Regions from separate parts of the Homo sapiens genome. Here region 1 is linked to region 2. Evidence: promoter capture Hi-C in 16 types of primary human blood cells and fetal thymus (Javierre and others, 2016). All regions are on one chromosome and are shown on one strand. Each heading gives the region's core, a stretch centred on a gene start or on the middle of the fragment in contact. The rest is flanking DNA. Distances are from core to core; before and after follow the strand shown.

The links. Contacts are between HindIII fragments. The CHiCAGO score rates a contact against its expected background, and 5 or more counts as called.
Region 1: the fragment with the promoter of POC5 here is called in contact with the fragment with the promoter of S100Z in region 2 in 4 of 17 cell types (total CD4 T cells, neutrophils, activated CD4 T cells and 1 more); the score reaches 7.2 in total CD4 T cells.

What each region holds. Positions count from the first base shown.
Region 1 is chr5:75,715,531-75,721,246 of GRCh38, forward strand. POC5 (POC5 centriolar protein) reads right to left here and starts at 1,907. Exons shown (of 12, transcript NM_001099271.2): 1 at 1,776-1,907. LOC441087 (a long non-coding RNA gene) reads left to right here and starts at 1,902. Exons shown (of 3, transcript NR_149046.1): 1 at 1,902-2,054; 2 at 4,405-4,527. RefSeq lists an enhancer at 1,303-1,612. The HindIII fragment of the contact is 9,196 bases long and covers 1-5,716 here.
Region 2 is chr5:76,847,625-76,852,788 of GRCh38, forward strand. S100Z (S100 calcium binding protein Z) reads left to right here and starts at 2,390. Exons shown (of 5, transcript NM_130772.4): 1 at 2,390-2,531. The HindIII fragment of the contact is 3,987 bases long and covers 1,810-5,164 here.

The DNA.
Region 1 (5,716 bases), core at 657-3,156, 1.1 Mb before region 2:
CACTATCATGAGAACAGCACGGGGGAAATCGCCCTTATAATCCAATCACTTCCCTTCCCCTACATGTGGAGATTACAATTGAAGATGGGATTTGAGTGGGGACACAAGACCTAACCATATCAGGTCCCTATACCCGACTCGTATGCAATATTTTTATCATAAATGTGAATGTGTATTTTTCTAGAAAGAAGATCTTTCGCTTTAAATATGCGTTCAGAGGGGACCATAGCCCTAATAGAGTTAAGGACTACGACTGTGAATGAGAAGAGGGTTAAAGCCAGAACCACTAACATCTAAAGGGCAAGAGAAGAACAGTCAGCAAAGAAGAGGAGTCAGCAAAGGAAGTCAGAACATTAGAACTATGGAAGCAATATCACAACTTTGAGAAGAAAATAGAATTAGATGCCAAAGAACCATGAGGATTGGATAGAATTTGGAGATTAGGAGGTTGCTGAGACGTTTGCTTGAACAATTTCACTGGAAAGTAAAACAATTACAGGTCTTAGTCACAGTGGGCTGAAAAATAAATGAGAGATGAGGAAATTGAAATAGAAAAGGAAGATACAGGGAAAAGTGCAAAAATAGAATGGAAACACAGGCTGGAACTAAATTGTGGAAAGGAAAGTTCAACTTTTTCCAGTGAGTATCACTGTGCATACACATGTTAAGTAAACTAAATCTCAGCATGACTGTCTTTAGTTAAGCCAATTAGGGAGGATAAAATAAGTGCATGTATCTGCAGCAAGGAATGGCTGCTTCACTGACTTCAAATCTACCACTGTGATAACTTGGTCCATTTATATTTTTATTCACTTCTTCCTTCAGGATTTGAGACCAGGCAGGTAACAGGGGTGGGGGGGGGGGGGTGCTGATTATTTAAAAATGAGCTAGTAAGTATGGTCAGATCTCAAAAATTGTTTCTTAATATGGACACACTGCAGACACAAAAAAACCCACCGCACTCTTGGAAAATATGCTATCTTCCATCTGCCCTGCTTTATGTCAACAAGGTATGAGTTATTTGAAACTCTAGAACAGTAGCATTTTCCTTACTGTTTCTAGGTTCAGAAACAAAGGAGAAAAATGAAAACTGCTTTAATGGGTGGCGGACGCACATTAGTTCACTACATTTTCAGTAGTCTCTAATCCAAGGTATCAGAAAACAAGATCAAAACTTTTGTGTGCTTCTCTGTTGCCAGAAACATAAAATAACATCTTGGTAATTATCTGGCTGACAGCAAAACAGGGGTCTGGGAATTCAAATGGAACCCCCAAGAGGCAAAGGAAGAGCGAATTAACATGCAAACTAGCAGCAGGGTGATGTCGCCTGTGCCTTTCACCAGGCCTAGCTGCACTCAAGGAAAGGGGCGCGCCAGCCCCTCCCCAAAGCAGGGACTAGAAGCAGAGGAGAAAAGCCATTGCAGTAAGCAAAAGGCCATAAGTTTTCTTCCATCACCTTCCGACCCAGCCTGTTTTAAGAAAAATCTTACTTAAGCACAACAGAGCTTTATACATGGTTATTTTTTCTCAACGTTTTAAGTGACCGGAACCTCTGATGACAGTAATCGCTCAGCATCCCTCACTCCTGCTCACTTCCTCTTCCTGCACGCCTCGGAGGGGAAACTTTGGGACCTTCCGGCACAACAGCTGAATCACTCGCGGTCTGGGGAAGAGCCCAGGGGGAGGAAACACGCGCCAAGGAACTTTAAATCTCCCTCCACTACTTTCGCCAGGGATGCAGGGACGCAGGATCTGCCCGGAGCGCTGCTACCCACCGTCGCCGCTCGCGACCAAATCCCGACTCCTCGCTCTGCGCCTCTTAGCCGCGTCGCAGCTGCAGTGTCAGCAAGTGCAGCCTCAGCAAGCACAACCGCTACCTAGACGGCAACCTGACAGTTTCAAACTGCAGGGAGGAATTAAGGACCGCCCTGGGCATTGGTCCTTTGTTTCAGCAATCTGCCGTTTGATTGGTCCGAGAGCTGGGGGCGGGGATTTGGGCCGCTGCCGGGAGAAGCCGGAATTACTTTGGAGAGCCCCGCCCCCTGGCTCCGCAGGTTGGTAGGGGGCGGGGTCCTAGGGAGCCCCACCCAGCGCCCGTGGGGATTAAATATTGCGCGTGCTCAGTTCTGTTCAGCGGCTGCAGGCTGCTAAGCGGCTCCGGGAGCTGATTTGGATAGAGGCTGTTGAGCAGGGCTGAAGTTGGCTAATGCCGTGTGCTGTTGGCTTTCAACAATTCCGGTAACCTAGATATGAGTCCTAATGCTTTCGTCTGCATAAGAACAATCCGAAATTCTGGGCCAGGTGTGGTGGTTCATGCCAGTAATCCCGGCACTTTGGGAGGCCGAAGTGGGAGGATCGCTTGAGCCCGGGAGTTCGAGACTAGTCTGGGGAACATAGGGAGACCCTTTCTCTATAAAAAATTAAAAACAAAAAAAAAATCTGCATCATCCACAGATCCCCTGCAACAGAATCACTTGGAGGTGCTTTTTTTTTTTTTGAGATGGAGTCTTGCTCTGCCGTCCAGGCTGGTGTGCAGTGGCACTATCTCGGCTCACTGCAACCTCCGCCTCCCAGGTTCAAGGGATTCTCCTGCCTCAGCCTCCCGAGTAGCTGGGATTACAGACGACCGCCACCACGCCTGGCTAATTTTTGTATTTTTAGTAGAGATGGAGTTTCACCATGTTGGCCAGGCTGGTCTCGAACTCCTGACCTCAGGTGTTCCGCCCACCTCGGCCTCCCAAAGTGCTGGGATTACAGGCGTGAGCCACCACGCCCGGCCGAAGGTGTTGATTCCTTCGGTCATGGACACCGTCAGGAAATCTGAATTTTTAACACACACTGCCAGTGATTCTGATGCAGGAGTCTGCAGACCACCCTTTGAGAAATTGCTAGTCTAGGCTGGGCGCGTTGGCTCACGCCTGTAATCCCAACACTTTGGGAGGACGAGGCAGGCGGATCACCTGCGGTCAGGAGTTCGAGACCAGGCTGGCCAACATGGTGAAACCCCATCTCTACTAAAAATACAAAAATTAGCCGGGTGTGGTGGCTTACGCCTGTAGTCCCAGCTACTCCGAAGGCTGAGGCAGGAGAATCCCTTAAACCCAGGAGGCAGAGGTTGCAGTGAGCCAAGATATCGCCACTGCACTCCTGCCTGGGTGATAGTGAGACTCTGTCTCAAAAAACAAAGAAAAAACCAAAATTGGTAGTCTAGTTTTAACTAATCTCAAACGTGTCAGACTTCAAGATAGAGCCTTCTGGTGAAGTATTGGCCTTAGAATCAGATCATAATTATAATCTAGCTTTACCATCTACTCGCTGTCACCTTGGATAATACTACTCACATACTAAGGTGGTAGGAGATTAAAGGAATTAATATATCTAAAACACCGAACACACAAACATATAGTCTTTCAACTTACATTGGCAACAGATAGGCTAGAGGTATGAGGACCCAGATGGCAAAGGTACCTAAGTAGCCCAGACTGGGGTTCTGCAATCTGAAGAACAGATACTGAGATCTGGGTGAGTTTTCAGGCTCCCTTCTGTTACCTCCAGTATAAGGTTTCTTTTTCTGTAGATAGAAATGACATAACCTGGGTCTCACTTACTTTTATGTTGGCAGAACCAGACTTCTACTTACACAAACAAGTAAGAAGAGCACCAGAAGTTTCTTTGGCATAAATTATGTTTGTTCTCCCCCTTTTTTTTCATGCTTATTATAGAGGACAAGTTCCTATTAATAGCTGCAAATTCATACTTGGTTCTAGTATTTGTTTTTTAATTGAATTGCCTTTTGGTGACCCCATACACTATAATTGATACTGAATCACTCTTCTGGTGCCCTCCTGCCACTAGGCTCCAAGTTTCTCTTTTCTGTCTTCCTTTTTGGGGAGGAGAGATTTTTATCGCAAACCATTTAGTAAACAATCCCATTCTCCTGTAAAACTATAGAGAGAAAGAGACAGAACCTTGTCTGGATGTTATGAATTTAGAACTGATATCTTTTCCCAAGGTTCCTAGAGAGGGAGGGAAAGAGAGAGAGAGAGAATTTAAAGCCCCCACAAACCCATAATAACTTGGTTGCCAGCTTGAACCCTTCATAATTATTTATTCATTCAACACAAATATTTAACATCTGTCACAGGCAAAGCAAATTTTTGTTGGTGCTGGGGATAGAGTGGTGAGCAAAACACAGTTTGCCCTCATGGAACTAAGAGTCTAATGGGAAAAACCGATATCAAACCAACAAATCCACCACACATATGAATACATAACAGCTGTGTGAACCTGGGCAAGCTGCATAACCTCTCTGTACTTCGGTTTCTGTATCTGAAAAATGAGGGTAGGAATTCGCTCACTGAGAATTAAATTAACGTAGGTGCTATTCTTATCCTCATTTTTCAGATAGAGAAACTGAAGCACAGAGAGGTTATGCAGCTTTCCCAGGTTCATGTAGCTGGTAAGAACAGAGTCCATGTTCTTATCACTCAAGATGTTCTGTTGGGGACGGCATGCCATGGTCTTAAGGTAAGAAAGGGCTAAGTGAGTGAAGAGAAAGTGGCACAGGATGAGGCTGCAGATAGAGATGGAGGCCCAACTATGCAGGACTTGTTAAGGATTTGAGATTTTAAGTTCAATGGGATGTATTTTAGATATTCAGGAGAGAGATGAGGACAACTTGAACTAGACGAGTGGCAAAGGAGATGGAGAGAAGACAGAAATGAGATACAGTCATCACTTGCTATTCCTAGGGATTGGTTCCAGGACCACTCCTGATGTCTTCCCCTCCCCCTCCGCCAAAGTAAATACCAAAATTGAGGATGCTCAATTCGCTTATATAAAATGGTATAGTATTTGCATATAACCTACAGACATCCTCCCATGTACTTTAAATAATCTCTAGATTACTTATAATACCTAACATAATGTAAATATATGTATGTAAATGGTTGTTATATTTTATTGTTTTTTATTTGTATTATTTTTTACTTTTAAAATTTACTTTTTTGAATATTTTTGATCCACGGTTGGCTAAATCTGCTGATGTGGGACCTGAGGATATAGGGGGCCAACTGTATGTTTTGGAGGTATAATTGGTGGGACTTGATGATAGGATTTGGACTGTATCTGAGGTGAAGGAGAGAAAAGTGTGAAGGACTCCAGGTTTCAGGTTTCTCGCTTGAGCAACTGAGTGGATGACAGCATCAGATATTGAGGAGAACACTGGAAGAGGAGCAGGTTTTGAAAGTGGAAGATCAAAATTGAATTTTAAACATTCTTTAAACATGAAATATCTGGAGATACCCAAATGGAGTATCCATCAGACCACTGAACTTACATGTCTAGGGCTCAGAAAAGAGGTCACTGCCTAGATATATAAACTGGGTGGCTTTTGCATATAGATTTTGTGGAGGATTGCAAAAATGGCTCCAATTCTACATCTCTCCAGGTATTGATGTCCTGTGCCATGCAATTTCACTTGGAGTGCTTCTCTACTAATGACCAACGGAATGTTAACAAATATGATGCAAGCGGAAGTTTCAAAATACTTACGTGCTTGGCTTAGCTTGCTCTTGCCCTCTGTTACAACGATGAAATACGCCTGGGCTAGCCTGCTGGAAGATGAAAGACACATGTAGTAGAGCCAAGTTGCCCCAGTCATCCTAGCCAAGGCCATCCTAGGTCAGCCTATAGCCATTTGACTCCCCAACAGGTG
Region 2 (5,164 bases), core at 1,140-3,639:
AACAACGAGGAATGCTAAAATTCTTATCACTGTGCCCTCTTATGTGGTGCCTGCCTCATGGTGATCTTAATGTTCTCCTAAAGATAGGGAAGAACAGGACCCTAGACCACAGTCTTGTGCTTGGGAGCTACACTTGGACAGGAATCACCACCCAAAACTGGCAATGCAGACAGATTACATGTGTTTTCTTCCGCAGATTTGTTCTGATCTCCCCAGACATCCGTCATTCTATAATCCTACAGTTTGGACCTTCTTAGTTTTCACTTTCAGGTGGGAAAGACTAGTAATTAATTAATTAATTAATTAATGCTTTTATAGAGACAGGGTCTGGCTCTGTCACCTAGGCTGGAGAGTAGTGGTTGCAATCACAGCTCACTGCAGCCTCAAACTCCTGGGCTGAAGTGATACTCTCAACCCCAGCCTCCTGAGTAGCTGGAACCACAGGTGTGCACCACCATGCCCAGCTAATTTTTAAAAAAAAATTTGTAGAGATGGTGTCTCCCTATGTTGCCCAGGCTGTGTTGAACTCTTGGGCTCAAGTGATCCTCCCACCTCTGCCTCCCAAAGTGCTGGGATTACAGGCTTGAGGCACAGCACCCAGTCAAGAGGTTTTTGGGTTTTGTTTGTTTTTTGAGACGGAGTCTCACTCTTGCCCAGGCTGGAGTGCAGTGGAACAATCTTGGCTCACTGCAACCTCTGCCTCCCGGATTCAAACAATTCTCCTGCCTCAGCCTCCCGAGTAGCTGGGATTACAGGCGCACACCACCATACCTGGCCAAGAGTAGTTATTTTGGAAAGAGAGACGTTTCAATCTTCAGAACATATCTTTGGCCGGGTGCGGTGGCTGGTGCCTGTAATCCCAGCACTCTGGGAAGCCAGGCTGGGAGGATCACTTGAGCCCAGGAGTTCAAGACTAGACTGGGCAAGCAACATGGTGAAACCCCATCTCTACAAAAAAATACAAGTATTAGCCAGGTTGTGGTGGCATACCCTGCAGTCCTAGCTATTTGGGAGGCTGAAGTGGGAGGATCACTTGAGCCTGGGAGGTTGAGGTTGCAGAGAGCTGTGATTGTGTCTCTGTACTCTACCCTAGGCAATGGAGCAAGACTCTGTCTCCAAAAAAAAAAAAAAAAAATTTATCTTTGAATTCTTTCTTTCAATATATTGTTATCTGTATTTCTGTACTGAGTGCTGTGCTTCTTGACCTGTCTCTGCCCTTTTCTGTGTATTTATTTATTTAATTGACAAGTAAAAATTGTATATATTATGGTATACAAATACAGCTTGATGTTTTAATTTATGTATACATTGTGGAATTATTAAGTCAAGCTATTTGACTTAATTGCCCCATATACTTGTCATTTTTTGGGGGTGATAAAGACACTTAACATCTACTGTCTTAGCAATTTTCGATACACGATATATTGTTATTAACTATAGATAGCATGCTGTACAATGGGAGCTCTTAAACTTATTCCTCCTGGGCCAGGCGCAGTGTCTCACGCCTATAATCCCAGCACATTGGGAGGCCAAGGTGGGCGGATCACTTGAGGTCAGGAATTCAAGACCAGCCTCACCAACATGGTGAAACCCCATCTCTACTGAAAATACAAAAATTAGCCAGGCTTAGTGGTGGGCGCTTGTAATCTCAGCTACTTGGGAGGCTGAGGCAGAAGCTTGAACCAGGGAGGTGGAGGTTGCAGTGAGCTGAGATGATGCCACTGCACTCCAGCCTGGGTGACAGAGCAAGACTCTGTCTCAAAAAAAAAAAAGAAAAAAAGAAATGCTGTGAGGAATTATTAGCCATGAAGCTTCAGCAGGCAGGTTAGGTAGCTTTTCCAGTCACATACTGGTGAAGTAAGGATTTGAACCCCAAGACTCTGGTGCCAGAGTAATTGCTCTTCACCATGAGGAGGCACCAGTGGGGGAGTGTTGGATCACAAGCAGTTTCTTTTTCTTTTTTTTTTGTTTTTTTGAGACGGAATCTGGCTCTGTCACCTAGTCTGGAGGGCAGCGGCGAGCTCAGCTCACTACAACCTCTGCCTCTCAGGTTCAAGCGTTCTCCTGCTTCAGCCTCACGAGTAGCTGGAATTACAGGCGCCCGCCACCATGCCTGGCTAATTTTTATATTTTTAGTAGAGATGGGGTTTCGCCACGTTGACCAGGCTGGTCTCAAACTCCTGACCGCAAGTGATCCACCCACCTCAGCCTCTCAAAGTGCTGGGATTAGAGGCATGAGCCACTGCACCCAGCGCAATTTCGTTAGAGACTTGGTGCCTTCCCATTTCTTTTACTCAGCAATATACCAGCTTTAGGTCCTAAATTAAACCTCTTCCTGCTTTCCCACCTGATGAAGAAACGTGCCTGCAGTGTGGTGAGTCTGGACCACGCAGACTCAGAACAGCACTACTCACAGCAGGGCCTCTTGCTCGCTCTAGCTGCTGGGAGGAAAACGGCTTGCTAATCTCCACGCCCAGAAATTCAGACAAGAGCATTCTCCTTATCTCATCTGCACAGGAAGCAGGTCTAAGGTAAAAGATTATTTTTGTGGAAGATTCTTGCTTTTCAGTCTAGTGGTTGAAGTGTGAGCCTGGCAGGCGTTGGATTAGAGAGGGCAACAAGAGTGGAGGTTGTGAGGTGGGGGGTTGCCTTGGGGCTTCCACTCTAAAATGTGGCCTTACCTTGGCCACAAAGGGGTCGGGGGGGTGGGGGAGAGAGAGAGAGAGAGAGAGAGGGAGAGAGCAGCCTGATCATAGCTCGGAGCGTAGAGGTTCTGGTAAGTTCCTTGCCCTAAAGAACACTTAGTTCATTCTGGCTCCTTTCCTGGTGACCATCCTGGCTTCCTGCTTGGCCTTCACCTCACCTTGAGAAATTCAAGTTTCATGTTCTTGTCCAGGCCAAAGACCCAGAAGAACCTTCAAGGTGAGGCTTGGCCCCTTAGATCCACGCCGTGATTTCGCTTCTTTTTCCTGAAGCCTGCACAGATGCCAGTGTAAGCCCACTCCCAGGAAGTCACAGCAGTGGTCTATGCTCCTCCTCTTCACACTGGCCAGTGCTGGGCATGCCTGGACAATCAGCCCTGGAATGGCTGCTCTCAGCCTACAGAAGAAGAGAGGGAAGAGGGATGGAGGGGCTGGGGAGAAGTTGGTGAGAGGACACAAAATTTGGGTTAGACAGAGAAATAAAGTTTTTTTTGTTTTTTGTTTTTTTCTGAGATGGAGTTTCACTCTGTCACCCAGGCTGGAGTGCAGTGGTGTGATCTCAGCTCACTGCAACCTCCACCTCCCACTTGGCTTCCCAAAGTGCTGCGATTACAGGCATGAGCCACCGCTCCCCAGCCTCCTCATGGGATTTTTGAGGATGACATAAAGGAATACATTTAAACTGCCTAGAAGGGTGCTTGGCCCAGAGTATGTGCTAATTAACGTTGGCTACTATTATTTTCCTTCAACCCAGTGCCGGTGCAGGTCTAGAGGAAAGCATGAGGTGATACAGGGGCACCCAGAGGCGGAGTGCTCCCAGGAGCTGAGGGGCATCGGAGGCTTCCCTGGAGGACTGGCACCTGAGCAGAGGAATGGGCAGCACAGTGGCAGTGCCACGTGTGCGGCACAGATGGTGCAGAGGGGATGGGTGGGCACACTGCGGGGAGTTTAGATTTAGCCAGGGGATGGCAGGGCCTGTCCAGGAGGTTAAGTGAGGAGCTCAGGTGTGCCTCCCAGCAGGCAGGGGAGGCTAATTTTGAAGAAGAGCAAAGTAGGTGCAGGAGGTGAGTTGGGATCTCATGCAGTAATTCAGGCCAGAAGTGACAAGGGCCTGAACTATGGCGCTAGGGTTGAGGAGGAAGGAACAGAGAGTGAGGAGATACAACCTGGCAACTGATTGCATGAGAGAGAGAGAGGGGCCAGGAATAGCATCATACTCAGGTTTCTGGCCATGCAGTTGGGTGAATGAGGGTATTGCTGTTGACTGGAGCAGCAAAAAAAGGGGATCCCCTCTGGGGTAGAGGAAGAAGGGAGCAGGGGATTGGAAAATGCCAAAATCAGTTTGCTGTGGTTTGGAATCTGAGACTCTGATGTGTTACCTAAGTGGAGATGTCCTGTGGTCAGTTTATTTATACTCTCCTGGGTCCTAGGTAGGATTTAAGGTGACATATGAAGATAACACAAAGTAGAGTAAGATATTATAAATTAAGTAGGAGAGAAAGCAGACAGAAAAGAACGAGATGTAAAGTAGAGGAAGGAATGAGGTTAAATATAAAGTACACAGCAGAAAGCAGAAGTCACAAGCTGGCCAGCATTCGCTGAATTTCCTGTTTGAGTTGTCCTGCAGTCTTATGTTTGTCTGTTGGGTTTTGGTGGGTTTTGTTTGTTTGTCTTGAGTTGCAGTCTTAAAATCCAGGAATTCTTAAAAATTAAAATTTCTCACTTTTTCTTTTAAAAAAAAAAAAAGTGAAGTTCTGGGAGCTCTGAGCCATATCCCATCTGGCAACGATGATCTGGGTCTGAGAAGCAGTCTCGCCTTCTTGGGAGAGCACGGGCTCTCCAATTTCCCACTGGCCTCCACTCCACTTGGCTGTCTGGCACTGAAGCAGTGTCGGTCCTCTTATCAGCATGGACTATTTCTCTGAACTCACCCTTCTATCAAATGTAATAAAAAAAATTAGTCAAGATATTTTTTTTTTCTTAGTCTCAATTTTGCCTGTTTACACTAGCAGCCTGGCCGTGGAAGCAGGCTGATGCTCCCTGTTCACAACTGCTTTTCATTCTGCTTAGTGCCTCTGTTGTATCTGTTGTTAAATAGTTTGGGCTGGGTGTAATGGCTCACACCTGTAACCCCAGTACTTTGGGAAGCTGAGGTGGGTGGATTGCTTGAGGCCAAAGTTTGAGAATAGCCTGGCCAACATGGTGAAAACCCATCTCTACTAAAATACAAAAAAATAGCCAGGAATGGTGGTGCACACCTGTAATCCCAGCTACTCAGGAGGCTAAGGCACAAGAATTGCTTAAACCCAGGAGGCGGAGGTTGCAGTGAGCTGAGATCCCGCTACTGCACTGCACTCCAGCCTGGGTGACAGAGTGAGACTCTGTCTCAAAAAACAAACAAACAAACAAAAAACAGCAAAGTTTGAACATGACCCGGCTGTAGGTATTTGAGTTTGCAGCAT